Regions from separate parts of the Homo sapiens genome. Here all the other regions are linked to region 1. The links are contacts of gene promoters, found by promoter capture Hi-C in blood cells and fetal thymus (Javierre and others, 2016). All regions are on one chromosome and are shown on one strand. The core of a region is centred on a gene start or on the middle of the fragment in contact, and the rest is flanking DNA. Distances in the headings are between cores, read along the strand shown. Region 1 holds the start of OR1L1 (olfactory receptor family 1 subfamily L member 1). Region 2 overlaps OR1J1 (olfactory receptor family 1 subfamily J member 1). Region 3 has its middle 3.6 kb from the start of OR1J4.

The links. The method cuts DNA at HindIII sites, captures the fragments that hold promoters and counts their contacts. A CHiCAGO score of 5 or more calls a contact.
Region 2: a fragment that was not itself captured here is called in contact with the fragment with the promoter of OR1L1 in region 1 in 1 of 17 cell types (endothelial precursors); the score reaches 6.4 in endothelial precursors.
Region 3: a fragment that was not itself captured here is called in contact with the fragment with the promoter of OR1L1 in region 1 in 1 of 17 cell types (endothelial precursors); the score reaches 5.1 in endothelial precursors.

The regions. Positions count from the first base shown.
Region 1 is chr9:122,658,779-122,663,745 of GRCh38, forward strand. It overlaps OR1L1 (olfactory receptor family 1 subfamily L member 1), which reads left to right and starts at 2,938. Exons shown (of 1, transcript NM_001005236.3): 1 at 2,938-3,870. The coding sequence starts at 2,938. The coding sequence ends at 3,870. The HindIII fragment of the contact is 3,812 bases long and covers 1,826-4,967 here.
Region 2 is chr9:122,472,103-122,477,069 of GRCh38, forward strand. OR1J1 (olfactory receptor family 1 subfamily J member 1) reads right to left here. Exons shown (of 1, transcript NM_001004451.1): 1 at 4,856-4,967. The coding sequence ends at 4,856. It also overlaps a transcript of OR1J2 not described here. Among named protein-coding and RNA genes, the nearest start is that of OR1J1, 3.3 kb to the right of the region's middle. The HindIII fragment of the contact is 2,151 bases long and covers 1,188-3,338 here.
Region 3 is chr9:122,520,232-122,525,198 of GRCh38, forward strand. It overlaps a transcript of OR1J2 not described here. Among named protein-coding and RNA genes, the nearest start is that of OR1J4, 3.6 kb to the left of the region's middle. The HindIII fragment of the contact is 921 bases long and covers 1,951-2,871 here.

The sequences.
Region 1 (4,967 bases), core at 1,688-4,187:
AGACAAACAGATTGAGATATTGCATAGAATGGAGGTCCAAAGTGTTAAGTGGGGACAGAGACAAAGCCATTTCAACTGGTAGTCATCAAGCAAAGTGTCCTGGAAGAGGCTGAATTCGAGCCTTGCAGGTTAGGTTTAATAGATGAAGGAAAGGATAAGCAAAGACACAATAGTCTAAATGGGTGAGGGGCAATGAGTCAGAAGGAATCAGATAACCTTGGATTGCAGTTGTACTGGGATATGGGGAAGTTTAAGTCCTAATTTGAGAATTATATCATACACACAAAGTGAGATGTCCCAAATGACCAGAAATATGGATTGCCATAAAATATAAAATATATGTCCCTAGTGGCTGGAGGGAAGGAGGAATGGAGAATTGGTGTTCAGGGAAAATATATTTTCAGTTATATAAGATGAATAAGTCCTAGAAATCTGCTATGCAACATTTTTCCTATTATTAATGATACTGTGAACTAAAAATTTGTAAACAGGGTAGATCTCATGTTAAGTTTTCTTACCACAATGAAAGAAAAAAGAAAAGAAGAAATAAGAGAGTAGAAGCCTTATCCTTCTCATCCATTCAGCTCATCTGTCAGAATCCCTCCCCCATCACTTCCACCTGCTTAGAGCCATCTCTTTGTAGGAGGAAAACAAACATCACCTTAAATTTCAAGTAGTGAGAGCAGGAGCCATTTCAAATACATGACAATCTGAGTTCTAGAATGGTTCCAGTGAGGATTACTTTCTTACTTTCAAACAGATCCACACAATAAACTAGAGTGGCCAACCACTTCTTTTTTTTTTTTTTTTTTTGAGACGGAGTCTCACTCTGTTGCCCAGGCTGGAGTGCAGTGGCGTGATCTCGGCTCACTGCAAGCTCCACCTCTCAGGTTCATGCCATTCTCCTGCCTCAGCCTCCCGAGTAGCTGGGACTACAGGTGCCCGCCACTATGCCCAGCTAATTTTTTTGTATTTTTTTAATAGAGACGGGGTTTCACCGTGTTAGCCAGGATGGTCTCGATCTCCTGACCTCGTGATCCACCCACCTCGGCCCCCCAAAGTGCTGGGATTACAGGCGTGAGTCACCGCGCCCGGCCCCAACCACTTTTTTTGAAAGTTGCTTTAACAATAAAAATATCGATCTGGTTTGCTTAATGTTTGTGTGTTACAACTGTAATAAAATTAATAGCTAACGCTATATATATATGCCCTGATGGCTTTCCTGAGTGAGAAGCAAGGGTCATACATAAGTAGACTTAAGGATGCTTCAGACAGAAGAGTAAAGATTCCAGGCCTAGGGTCTAAAGTCTTAACCCTATTGCTTATTATATTTTAAAGTTCTAAGAACAGTGTCTAGCAAGGGACTGCTTCTAACACTGGGAGATGGGAAAGTGACTAGTGGCATAAGATGTTCTAGTTGTTTTAGCTTGATGATCAACGAATTCCGAGAAAACGTTCTCCAACCCCACATTCTGTCTTTCAATGTAAGCAGCACAGCGGTGAGGCTCAGGAAGTCTGTCACTTGAGCCAGCCTCACACAGGTGGGGTCTTTTTCACCAAAAGGAGTTAGGTCAGGAGGGTGATTTCTGAGAGAGAGAGAAGGCACTGACACTCCCCAGGCTCCTTGGGGAAGAAACTCCAAAACCGTAATAGTTCTTGGCTTGTTTTCTGCTGTCTTCTCCATCTGAACTCCAGGGACTTCTTGATGATCTCAAAGGATGCTCCCTTGACAGAGGGTGGGGTCTATGAGTGTCTTTAATCTCTTCAGCATGTGGGAGGCCCAGAGGAGGAAGAGAGGAAAATCTTCAGCTTCATGAGGGTTGAAAGCTTGTCTAGAATCAGGTGCCTTCTCTGTGTGGTTTTTTGGGGAAGCATATATATAACTGAGACTGGAATTGGGAAAAGAATTACACCAACACAGACAAGCATGCACTAACAATGACGATTTTAGCATTTAGGGGCTGGATAACAAAAATGAGGTTTATGTTACATTAAAAGAAATGTTGGCCGGGTGCGGTGACTAATGCCTGTAATCCCACCACTTTGGAAGGCCAAGGTGGGCGGATCACTTGAGATCAGGAGTTCGTGACCAGCCTGGCCAACATGGTGAAACCCCATCTCTACTAAAAATACAAAAATTAGCTGGGTGTGGTGGCACAAGCCTGTAATCCCAGCTACTCAGGAGGCTAAGGGGGGAGAATCGCTTGAACCCAGGAGGCAGAGGTTGCAGTGAGCTAAGATTGTGCCACTGCACTCCAGCCTGGGTGACAAAGCAAGACCTTGTCTCAAAAAAAAAAAAATAAGGAAAAGAAATGTTTTTACTATCCTGTTATTTCTGTCTATCTTTTGCCTCTTCATACCTATCCTTTCACTCAAATAAGGTTTCACTAAAAAATGAGGGAAATGGAGTAACTGTTGGGTAATCTCATATTTCAATGTCTTTTTACATGATTGCCAGCCTCCAGAATAACTGATGCAGACAGAAGTATCCGAACTAAGGGAAATCATTATTCCATCAGCTGGAAATTGAGAGATGAAACTTTTTTAAACCTGTCATAAACTAATTACTGAAAACCGTGAATACGATAAATATATACAGAAAAAGAAGAGAATAATTTCTCCAGGATTCCCCTCCTCTCCTTCTGGGAATTCTCTTGCACTCACTCCTTCCTCTTGCCCTATATCTCTTCTTTTCTCTTTTTCCCATTTCTGTTTCCCTGTAATTTGTTTCTTTATAGCAGGCAACTGAGATTAAAATATATATTAATTTCTAAATATCCCACATTAATGGAAAGAAACCACAATCCAGATAATTGTAATGTTTTAAATTTTTTCTTTGCTGATAAGAAGAATAAAAGGAGAAATTTTGGACAGATTGTATCAGATGTTGGAAGAATCTGTTACAGTGTTAGTTTATCTTTAGGTGAACCCACAACTATGGGAAGAAATAACCTAACAAGACCCTCTGAATTCATCCTCCTTGGACTCTCCTCTCGACCTGAGGATCAGAAGCCGCTCTTTGCTGTGTTCCTCCCCATCTACCTTATCACAGTGATAGGAAACCTGCTTATCATCCTGGCCATCCGCTCAGACACTCGTCTCCAGACGCCCATGTACTTCTTTCTAAGCATCCTGTCTTTTGTTGACATTTGCTATGTGACAGTCATTATCCCTAAGATGCTGGTGAACTTCTTATCAGAGACAAAGACCATCTCTTACAGTGAGTGTCTGACCCAGATGTACTTTTTCTTAGCCTTTGGAAACACAGACAGTTACCTGCTAGCAGCCATGGCCATTGACCGCTATGTGGCCATATGTAATCCCTTCCACTACATCACCATTATGAGTCACAGATGCTGTGTCCTGCTTCTGGTTCTCTCCTTCTGCATTCCACATTTTCACTCCCTCCTGCACATTCTTCTGACTAATCAGCTCATCTTCTGTGCCTCAAATGTCATCCATCACTTTTTCTGCGATGATCAACCAGTGCTAAAATTGTCCTGTTCCTCCCATTTTGTCAAAGAAATCACAGTAATGACAGAAGGCTTGGCTGTCATAATGACCCCGTTTTCATGCATCATCATCTCTTATTTAAGAATCCTCATCACTGTTCTGAAGATTCCTTCAGCTGCTGGAAAGCGTAAAGCATTTTCTACCTGTGGCTCTCATCTCACAGTGGTGACCCTGTTTTATGGAAGCATTAGCTATCTCTATTTTCAGCCCCTGTCCAACTATACTGTCAAGGATCAAATAGCAACAATTATCTACACCGTACTGACTCCTATGCTAAATCCATTTATCTATAGTCTGAGGAACAAAGACATGAAGCAGGGTTTGGCAAAGTTGATGCACAGGATGAAATGTCAGTAAAAGACCTAAGGTCTTAAGAGAATACCACAGATCTCTTGCCCTGGACTATAGGTTATTAATGGGTATGTGATTCTGAAATGATTATTAGATTCTGAAAGGATAGTACCTTCAATGATGGTGTTTCATTCCTTACAGAAGAATGTTTATTGCATGTATTGAAGCTACTCCTGAATATAATGCCTACAAACTAAGTTGGATCACTGTAATCTCCTGAGTATCCCTATTCATGCAGCTGGGTTTTCTTGTATAGTAATGTAAAGCTGCTTGAATGTCTTTGAGCTACTCTGTGTGTGTGTGCGTGCGTGTGTGCATGTGTGTGTGTATGTGTGTGTGTGTCGCTTCATCATATTAGCCCAGGGGCTCCTCAATAACGAGGTCTCTCTCTTTCTCCCATTATAAATGTCAGAACTGTGACTCCTTCCTCTGCATTTCCTCAAAGATTAAAGCCTGGCTTCTATAGTTGTCATAGTCTCAACAAATAAAATCATCCCACTAGATAACTCTTAGTGAATCAGTGCCAGGTCAGGTTCCTAAGAGTATGGCATCTCAGTATTCTTCCTGCTTCCCACCTGGCAAAGCTGACTGTACCTTAAATCTCTCATTAATTTCATTTGACCCAAACTCAACTGCACTGTTTTCCCGGGAGGTATGTGTTAGGTCCCAGTAACCTTAGTAGCAGATGCCTCCAACTGCTGGGGCAGTTCTCTTCCTTAACAGACTTTGAAGACAGTCTTCCAACCAGAAAAACAAATTGGGTAGGAAAGAAACACTTTTGCTCATTTGTGAGTTCTGAGAAATATTAGTCACTGCTAGTCCATGAATTATCTTGCAACTCAGAGATTTATGAATTCATTTGCTCTTTCAACAAATTTCTACTTCTGATACACCATGAACCAGCCTACTGGACTTAAAAACAAAGATAATGTACTACATGATTTAAGTCAACAATCTGAAGGCCAAAGATCAGCAGGGTCTAAGGAAACAAAATAACACAGGCAATACAAGTATTTGGAGGGCAATTTCCTGTTAATTGGATTGTTTTAGGTTTGCAAGGTACAGAGAAACACACATACTTTTAAGTAACAGATGTCAAATAA
Region 2 (4,967 bases), core at 1,013-3,512, 190 kb before region 1:
ACCTCCCTAATGGGCCTTTCAAAGTTGGATTTTATCGAGCTCCCTCCTTTGCATGGATACAAATGTGTGTTAGTCTTGATCTGTATGTTCTCCCCCTGGATTGAAGCATTCCCCTGAAGATGAGCCACCACATTAACAGTAGTTAAAGTCCTTTTAGAAAAGATAATTCATACCAGGGCCATCTCTCTTGAGCTCCCAGCAACTGAGGAATTAATTTTACAGGACAAGTTATAATACAAATGTGGGCCATCTGGCCAATCTTACAGCACTTTAATTGTGCTTATCATCTCCAGCCCTCTGGACTAGTTGAAATGCACCAATAGTACTCTTAAGACCCAACTGGCAAATTTTGTAGAAACCTTATACTTGCCGTGGCCAAAAGCCCTGCCTATAGTGCTTCAGAGCTAAAAGGTCTCCCTTTGGAATACATAAGATCTCACAATTTGTAGTTATTACTGGGTACCCCATGCATTTGGCCCCAACTTCAAAGACCCAAAGTTCATAAAAGGTGAAATGCTTCAATATTATAAAGGTATAATCAAGGCTATGGATAAAAAGTATGCTCTGGTAGAACAATCTTTCCACAGTGCATTCCCAGGAGATGAAGACCTAAAACACCATAATCTGCAATCAGGAGATTTTGTCTATTTGAAAAGACATTTAAAAAAAGACTCCCTCTGACCTCATTGAGAGGCCCATTTCCAGTCCTGTTAACCAACCTTTGTGCTGCCAACCTTAAAGGAATTGATTCTTGGATATATGTATCTTATCTAAGGAAAACATCAGCTCCTGAGTGGATCTGCACTCCTGTCAACGAATTAATACTAAAAATTTCTAAGAACTGAACTTAGTTTATAAAACTAAAAATTTCTAAGATTTGAAGCAGGTGGCATCTGTTTCTCCCAAGATGTTTGGATGACTTCTATATACCCTTTCCTTATTTCTAATTCTTACTTTATCTTATCCATTTCTTTTCCCTGGAAGACGATATTCCTGTCCACATTTCCCAGTCTGTTGGTACAGGGGAAAACTTACTGATTGTTGGATCTGTCATAAAAAATCCTGACCTGTTAATGACTCTAGTTTTCTTTTAGTACAATCTGTAACAAATTTAGTACAATCTGTAACAAACATCTCAGCTCCAACCCTCTGTACAAAGTGTATCATGGGACCATCCTATAAGGTTAAGCTTTCTCATTCACCTTCTATTCCTGTCTCCTGTCTCATCTACTCAAAACAATGATCTCCTAGTAGGGCCCTAGAGACGTGCAATGGATCATCTCTCTAAAAGTATTCCTTGGGTCTCTTTACCATATGTAAGAAAACTTGTTGGGACTGATTTTAAGAGGAAGGGCCATTAGCAGTTTATAGTAATATAACTGACCCCTGGTTTAATCCTGCCAGACACAGAAAATTTACAGATGGAAGAATTCTTTGTTTTCCTATTGGATATATTTACTTTTGTGGGTGGGATATGTCAATATGGGCCTCCAGATATTTAGACACTTGGACAACAGGAGGCTAATGTGTGTTGGGATGTTTTGTTTCTCTGTTGTCAATGCATAATAGATCTGAAACTGGTCACGGGACTGTCATTGGACTAGTCCCGTCTTACTATATCAAAGGGTTAAACATGAGTTACCAGGTGGGCATGGGACTCTGGATTGCTTCCTTTGTCAGATCTTTTGTATAATGGTATGATATAGCCACTAATGAAGAAATGGTAAAAGATTTATTTGCTACCCTAGGAATTCTTGCAGACTTCACTGCAAGTATACAATAGCATTCATTGGCTTCTCTTGCCAGGGTAGTGTTGACAGAATTGCTCTTGATTATCTATTAGCCGAGCAAGATGGTATCTGTGCGATTGCTAATACTGCATGTTGTACCCAGGTTAACTCCTCCAGGTAAGTTGAAACTCAGTTACATAAACTAAAAGAACAAGTCTATCTGGCTACAAGTCTCACCCATTTCTCTGGGGTCATTTTATCTATTTAGTTGGTTGCCTTTGTTCATGGCTCAAAAGCATCATGCAAACTGGACTCGTCATATTATGGCTATTTTTGCTCTGTATTTTCCTTTTTAAACTGTATACTTGTTGTCTGTTAAATCTTTGCAGAAATACAACTCCTGACAAAATAATGTTGGCCCAGCAATTTGAGATGATAGTCAATGCCTATGGAACAGACAAAATTAAATTTAATGATGAAATCCAGATGAGATAAGCCTAAGAGCTTCTCCTTCTGGCCTCCTTCTTGCTCAAATGTGGCTAAAAGGGTCTTGAGACTGACTTCCAGCTGTTTATCACTTCCGCCTGATGTGGGATGAGATCAACTAACTACAACAGGTCTATCCCAGCACCAAAGGACAATTCAAACCTGGCTACAGGCTAGTTGATCAATGATATTTTTAGAGAAAAATCATTATCAAAAGAGGGAAATGTGAAAGTTGCAGGTATCAGGATGAAATAACTTTTGTCACACCCAGACAAAATAGGGCTGGGAAGGCATGAAGGAGAGGGGGCTCATGCTTACGTGTCTGAGATAAGAACTATTTCCAAGAAGTTTCTAAGAGCTCCAGAAGACATCTCTTTGTATCTTTCACTCATCTGCTTTGTACAGCTTGCAGGTTTCACACATATACATATGCTTCTATGGCAAGGTTTATCACTAGACATTCTTCAGGACTGCAGTAATTCAGATAACATGCTCTCAAATGGTCATTTGCACAGTAACAGCATCTCTACCAATGAACTGATGACAACTTTAGCTTTGAGCCTCTGGAGCCAGTGGACTCCGTGTCTAAGCAGCTGACACGAACCTCTTCCTTCTTGCCAATGAGAGCTTCCCTTTACCCTGCCCTCACCAGATGCACTGGTGGCTTGTCATTTTGTGCACCCTGGGTTATAATTTTCATTTCTCATTCCTGAATAAACTCAACATATTTGGACATTTCTCTAATTTTTTTTTTCCTAGGTGAATACTTGGCAGGACAACAGGCAGACAAGGAGCAGCCTGGGCTACACCCTCCTCCATCCAGCTTGGCAGGGAAGGTTGGGGCAGGGCCTCGCTAGGAGATAGGGGCTAGAGGGCGAGGCCAGGGGCAGGGTTAGGCATGGGGACAGCACCACGGTGGGGTCTTCCTGGCTCACTGTCCACTACCAGGTACTGGGATCCCCAGTTATTTTATTGCCTCACCATGAAAAGAAGTGAAAGCATTCCCTAAACATAATTTCATCATTGTCTTTATCTCTCTCCCGCCACATTTCTTCTTTTCTATTGCTCTTTCTCTCACAAAAGCAGGGGATATATATGAAACTTGCTAAGTGGTTCTATTGAAGCTTCTTCCATTAAGCTTGAGATAAGGAGAAAAACAACCCTCTCCCTGTTAGGAGGATTTGGGGTTCACTATGCAGCTTTCTCTGAAAGAAAACTTTACAAGACACTCTCTTACCTCCAGCTCTCAGCTCTTTTTAGATCCACATTAGATTGAGAGGCTCAAGTGTTACGATATTGATTATTATTATTATTTCCTATCAATATCTTCATTTTGTGTGTCACAATTCACTTTAATATCTGTTGTCTCCCAGGTCTTGGTGCCTCAGTTGAAACTTCCAATTTAACATCCTGACACACACTACTCCCTCTTCCTGTGATCATCAGAACAAGATAAAACCTTGTGTGTCTGGATAGTTCTCATCTGTTAAGATTCAGGTAAAGAAACGCCTTCTTTGGGAAGTTGTTTATATCCTCTTCCATCAGACTGAGCTAATTATTCCTCTTCAAACCCACACAGTGTTCCATGTAAACTATTATAGTCTTTGCTACACTGAGTCACTCTGGAATCAGATGCCAAGATTCAAGTCTTCCTTTCACGAACTATATGATCTTGGGGTATTCTTCCCCTTTTAGAGCCTGAGTTTTTTAAACTTACCTTTTGGAGTTTTTGTCAGAATTAAGTTAGATGATTTTAAGGTATATTAAGTTCTTAGATCAGTCCCTGAGAGAACTGAGGTGACATTTATTTTGTCACTGAACATCTGTATGTGTTTGGGGAGAAAGGAAGTGTGGGCTATATTCTGGAAGGACAAGACAGCAGTGTGTTAATTATTATGTAAGGAGTGAGAAATGTCATATGTTTTTCTTAAAATTTCTGAAAGGGCTTCAGCTTCCTGGATATCTGGTGCCTGGGCGAAAGAGGAGCCATATCTTCACAAAAGTGGAAAATTCCTAAGAAATAGAGGTGTGAAGGGCCAGACACATTTTATAACAAATTTAAAATCTGGGAAAGGTCAGCCCTGATGGCTTCCTTTTCATACCAGCCAAAGTGACATAACATGCTCAGAATATTTTCCAATTCCATTACCCAAGAAAAGAGCAAACAAAGTCCTATACAACATATCCTATTTTACTATTCCCTCAAACAGATGCAATAATAATATCAGGAAAGCATTTCAGAGTGACAGCTGTGGAAGAAAGACAAGTGAGCTATATTTTCAATAATTTGTATTTCTGTATTATTGAGGAAAAATATTACATGGGATGTTTTAAAAGAAAGGTAAATATCAGTTAGAATAATGGTTTTTTTTTACTCAATAATTTTTTTTTCTTTTTTCTTTTTTTTGACAGAGTCTTGCTCTGTCACCCAGGCTGGAGTGCAGTGGCACGATCTTGGCTCACTGCAACCTCCGCCTCCTGGGTTCAAGTGATTCTTCTGCCTCAGTCTCCCGAGTAGCTGGGACTATAGGCATGCACCACCATGCCCGGCTAATTTTTTTGTATTTTTAGTAGAGACTGGGTTTCGCCATGTTGGCCAGGCTGGTCTCGAACTCCTGATCTCAGGTGATCCGTCTGCCTCAGCCTCCCAAAGTGTTGAGATTACAGGCATGAGCCACTGCGCCTGACCTACTCAAGAGTTTTCTTAGGGCTCCCTTAATGTCTTTATTTCTCAGACTGTAAATGAATGGG
Region 3 (4,967 bases), core at 1,161-3,660, 140 kb before region 1:
GTGCAAATTGTGAATTCTGAGTTTACATAATTGTTTATTTATCTTGCCTATTAGATTCAGAAATTACATAGTTAACAGAACTTAAATCCTTCATTTTATTTCCTGGAAATTTATTTGTTCTTAGGAATTGTTTAAATATGTTGACTAACAGGATTCCCTTGCCATAGAAAAGTTGAAGGATTGGGTACTTGTAAAGGCATTTCCCTTTCTTTCTTCCCATTCAGTTCTCTTCTCACATTTTTTATTGTTGTTGCTGATGGTGGTGGGTAAGGAGAAGAAACTATATAGTACCCTTTACAGATCCAAAAAGCTATTCACTGTCATAAGTTCAGCTGTTCCACTTCAGAACTTGAGGTTCCTCTTCTAGACTACAATAACTTTCATTCAACAGTTCACTTTCAGACCAATGTTTATGAAGCTTTCTGACTACACATGTGAGCTTCAATCACGCCGCAGACTTACTCCAGGTAATGAATGAGAAGAACAAAAAAGTCTTCACAGTCAGGAGCCTTCTGTTGCCGTCACTAAATTTGATCCTTTTCCCATTCAGTGTCTTCGTTGTCTTTCTTATTGAAAAGCATTTCTACTCAGCTTAATGGCCCCTAGTTTGTATTATATGCCCAAGTCATCTTTTATCTTTTTCTTCTATCTTCTATGGTCTCCGCCATCCAGTGAAGGGCATATAGGTCTCTTTTTTCATTCCTCTACTTAAAGATAAACAGAACTACAAATGCTTCTGAGAAGCAGCAATGTGTAGCTGCAAGAGAAGAATATTTGGAAAGCTAGATCTCATTTGTAATCTCTATATACCAGGGTGGTGGCTGCGTGGCCTCAGACAATTCACCCAATTCCTTTGAACCTCAATTTCTTCTTCTGTATAGGTGAAAAAAGTTCTGCAACACCTAACATATTTTATTTGAAGTAAATGCAGTAATAAATTGGGCTTAACACTACAGCTGACCAAGAATAATGAATGTGAATTTTCTCTACCTTCTCCATCAGAGATGAGTTTTGAAGCAGAACTTGTGCAGACACTCCTGAATTATGGTGACCATGGGCAGCTTGTCATGTTGGTTATATTCCCAATTCAAAAGCAATAACCTGCCCTAGGACACAGCAACATATCTGTTCTGGCTTGAGCTAGAACCAAATAACTAAAGGGCAATGAACAAGTGAGTTCATGTGTGGGTAGGTAAGGAAAGACAGATCAGAAAAAGACCTTACTCTTCACTTGTTTGATATTGACTCAAAGAGTGATCCTTCATCGGGGGCTCATGTAGCTGCCTTTTGGCATCCAGTCCTTTGTAGAACAAGAAAGAGTGCCACCCCCACTCCTTGCTGCAAGCACAGGGTCACTTTGTTTACAGGCTTAGCCCCGACCTTTTCCAGAGCCAAAACCTGAACAGGGATAGAATCTTTATTGTTGGTTTATTGTTGGTCTAGGTAAAGCATGCCTTGATAGCCTCAGCACAATCATGACCTGCTGTACACTCTCATCTCTGCTATAGTGATGTGATCTGTAGAACTAAGTGCCTGACTCAGTTTCCCTGCCGGCACCCCAGTTCTGTTGTTCAGATCCCTGAAGATCTGCCTAGTCTTGTCAGGCCCATCCTCCAGAGAGACCAATATTGTCATTTATGTTTTAGCCACAGGCTGGTGACACTTCTCTGAATGACTTTTCCTCAAGAAATGGCAAGCTCACTTGTCTGTTGGGAAGTGTTTCATCACTATCTGTCTTACCAGTCCACCTCATCTCCCAGATCAGTTTGTCTTGGTTTTGGACAGCCCAAAGCACACTGGGGTGCACCGTATTGATTTGAATATGCAAATAGAACTGAACATCAATCACATTGGAAGTGTGCACTTTATATGAGTGCATTTCCCTCTAGCCATGCCAGGGCTAGGATTCGTGACCTTTTCCAGTGAAGCACCTCATTGAGTTTAGAACAAAGCTTGCTGCATTTTTGAAATCCATGAATGTGTGATTTTTTTTCACAAGTTAACAAATAGTTCTGAAAATTGGCAATTATGGACGTTTCAAGTGACCAGTGTACTTCCTTCTCAAAAGTTAACACTAATTCTTTCACAGTGTGACAATAGAACAATCTTCCTCAGAGGGGAGGAATCAAAACATCCTAGAACCAGGAACTCCAGCACTTGATTTTAGCACATATGTAACACACAATTCTGACATGGAAATTTTAAGAGTAAACAAAAATTATTCTATTTTGTCACAGATGGAAAGTGGAAGGGGAATTTGCTAAAGAATTAAGTTCACTTAGCTTTTGAAGGAAAAAATAAACCCATTAATGTTGTGATGGTTATATTATTTGAATCCAAGAACTGTGTGCATGTGTGTGTGTGTGTGTGTGTGTAACTCACATATACATACAATTTAATTTGTTTGTAATTAAGGACAAATGTTGGAATTAATACTAAAAATAGTAAAACATTCTTTATTTTATAGATTGTGCCCCTCAGTAGCCATTCAGCAAGTTACCTGTCTGTGCCAGGCAGTGTGCCTATTCTTGGTCAAACAGATCTGGATAAAGAGAAAGCCTCCAGGCAAAAGAAGCTCATATTCTGATAGTGTAGCAACAGGTAAACTAAGAAATATGCAAGAGTACAAAAAGTGCCTTAACGTAATAACACCACGAATAGTTGTGCTTATTTTGCATGGCTACTGTGTGTCAGGCATTGTATTAAAAGCTGTACCTGTATTATGTCATTTAATCCTCATAATAATTCTACATATATACACTGTTACTATCTATATTTTACAGCTGGGAAAATTGAGGCTTAGAGACGATGAAATACTTACATGGTAGTAACACAAGGGCGTATAGTTAATGCTGCCTGGATATCAGCAAAAGCTTTACAGGGGAAGTAATTCTTCAGTTGGGGGTTGAAGGATGCTCAGGATTGATACATAATGGAACAAATGAGTCTAGGTAGAGTGGACAGAGTGGGCCAGGGCACTGAATTTGCATGGTATGTTCAGGGAAATGTAAGAAAAATGATGTTGCTATACATAGGTGTGTATGAGTCAAGGAAGCATCAAGAGGTGAGTCTAGACAGGGAGACAAAGACTATATTGTGAGGGGGGTAGATTGTCCTGTTAAGAGGTTTAGACATTGCCTTGCAAGTGATGGGCACCATTGGCTGGGGTGGGGTGGAATTGGGATTAGTCTCAGGGAAGGTTATGTTTGTGTTTTCTAAAGATTACTCGGGTAACCAACGTGTGAGATGGTTTGGCAATGGATCGGAGTGCCTTGAATCAAGATGCTTAATTAGAAGGTCATTGTACATTCAGGTAACAGATAATGTGTGCCTGGATGAAGACAATGGCATATAGATAGAGAAGAGAATACTCTTGAAGGTAGACTAGACGGTATTGGTAATTGATGGGAAGTAGGTGATAGAATGAAGGATTGCTCTTGATTTATGGTTCTGTGGACTGATATTTAAGAACAAAATGGAAGACTAGGCACCTTAAATAATTTTGATTAGGTTTAACAGTCTTAAGGAAGTGAGGAAACAAACTGAAGACCATTTGCTTCTTAAAAATGGGTTCTGAGCAAGAAGAAAGCAAAACCCCTAAATAGGCAAGGGGCACTGGGAAGCTTTCTATCATGCTACCTCTCTCCATTACCCCACCTCTGATTCAAAGCATGCCCTGCTCATTACCCTACCAAGGTGCAAAGATTTATAAGTCACCTGTATGTCAGCAGGAATTATTTTAATGCTAACATCACATTAATTCTCTTTGACATAGATGACCTTAAAGGAATAGAAATTTGAGCTTATGTTTTGGGGATGGGTGTGATAAGATAGTCATGTGCCTCATAATGATGTTTTGGTCAACAATAGACTCCATATGCCACAGTGGTTTCAAGCTCATAATGGAACTGAATAAATCCTATCACAGAAATACTTACCATAGTGTTACAGTTGCCTACAGCATTTAGTACATTAACAAGCTGTACAGGTTTGTAGCCTGGGAGCATTAGTTATACCATATAGCTTAGCTGTATAGTAGGCCATCCCATCTAGGTTTGTGTAAGTGTACTTTATGATGTTTGCACAATGACAAAATTGCCCAGTGAAACATTTCTCAGAACATATGCACATAGTTAAGTAATGTATGACTGTATATCAAAGGAGGAATAAGTTTGGAACTTTGAATACATTGATAACTCTTGGCTGGCTGGAATCGAGGAATGTTAGACTATTGAACAGTGATAGGCAACAGTGTCCGTTGATGAATCTTTGTATGCTGAGTGCTGACCTAACTCCTAACGGCCACAGAATTATATTAAGTAAACTGAAGTGGACACCCAGTCACATCTTCTAGTTTGCTTGGGGCCTGTGAGAAAGAACTTAAACCATACCCAAACAGGATTCATAAATTTACCGCACTATCAGTGAGTGGATTGAGGGTCCCTGAGGATCAGAATGGTGAATGAAACCAGAAGGCGACATAGACACCATGAGTAAAGAAGGTAAAGTTGATTGGGTGAATCTGAGCAGCAGATTTAGGGTATCAGGGTGGACATAGGTTTCAGATATAGTGTGAGGCTGTATCTGGTGATCTCACACCTCAGGCTTCCTCATGTCCACTAGCTGTGTCATCAGGGGCCTTAGAGCTCTCCTAGGAGACCCTCTTCTGAAAGAGCTGATCATGAGAAGTGGAGGATAGTCCATTGCCAGTTCAAATGATAGAAGAAAGCTAGAGGTCAATGGCTTGGAGGAGACTGTCAGTGGTCTTTGGTCAGTGGAGCGATAGATGTCAACAGAATGGAAGGAGAGTTGTAGACTAAGGAGATGAGGGCAGGAGAACTCCAAGTTTGCAACCATCTCCAGCTCTGGTTACATGACGATGCCCTGCTCATCCCATTCAAGGACTCTCTGAGGGAACATCTGGAAAGGAGTTCTAGAGAGAAGAACAGACTTCCAGTTCCAGGTCA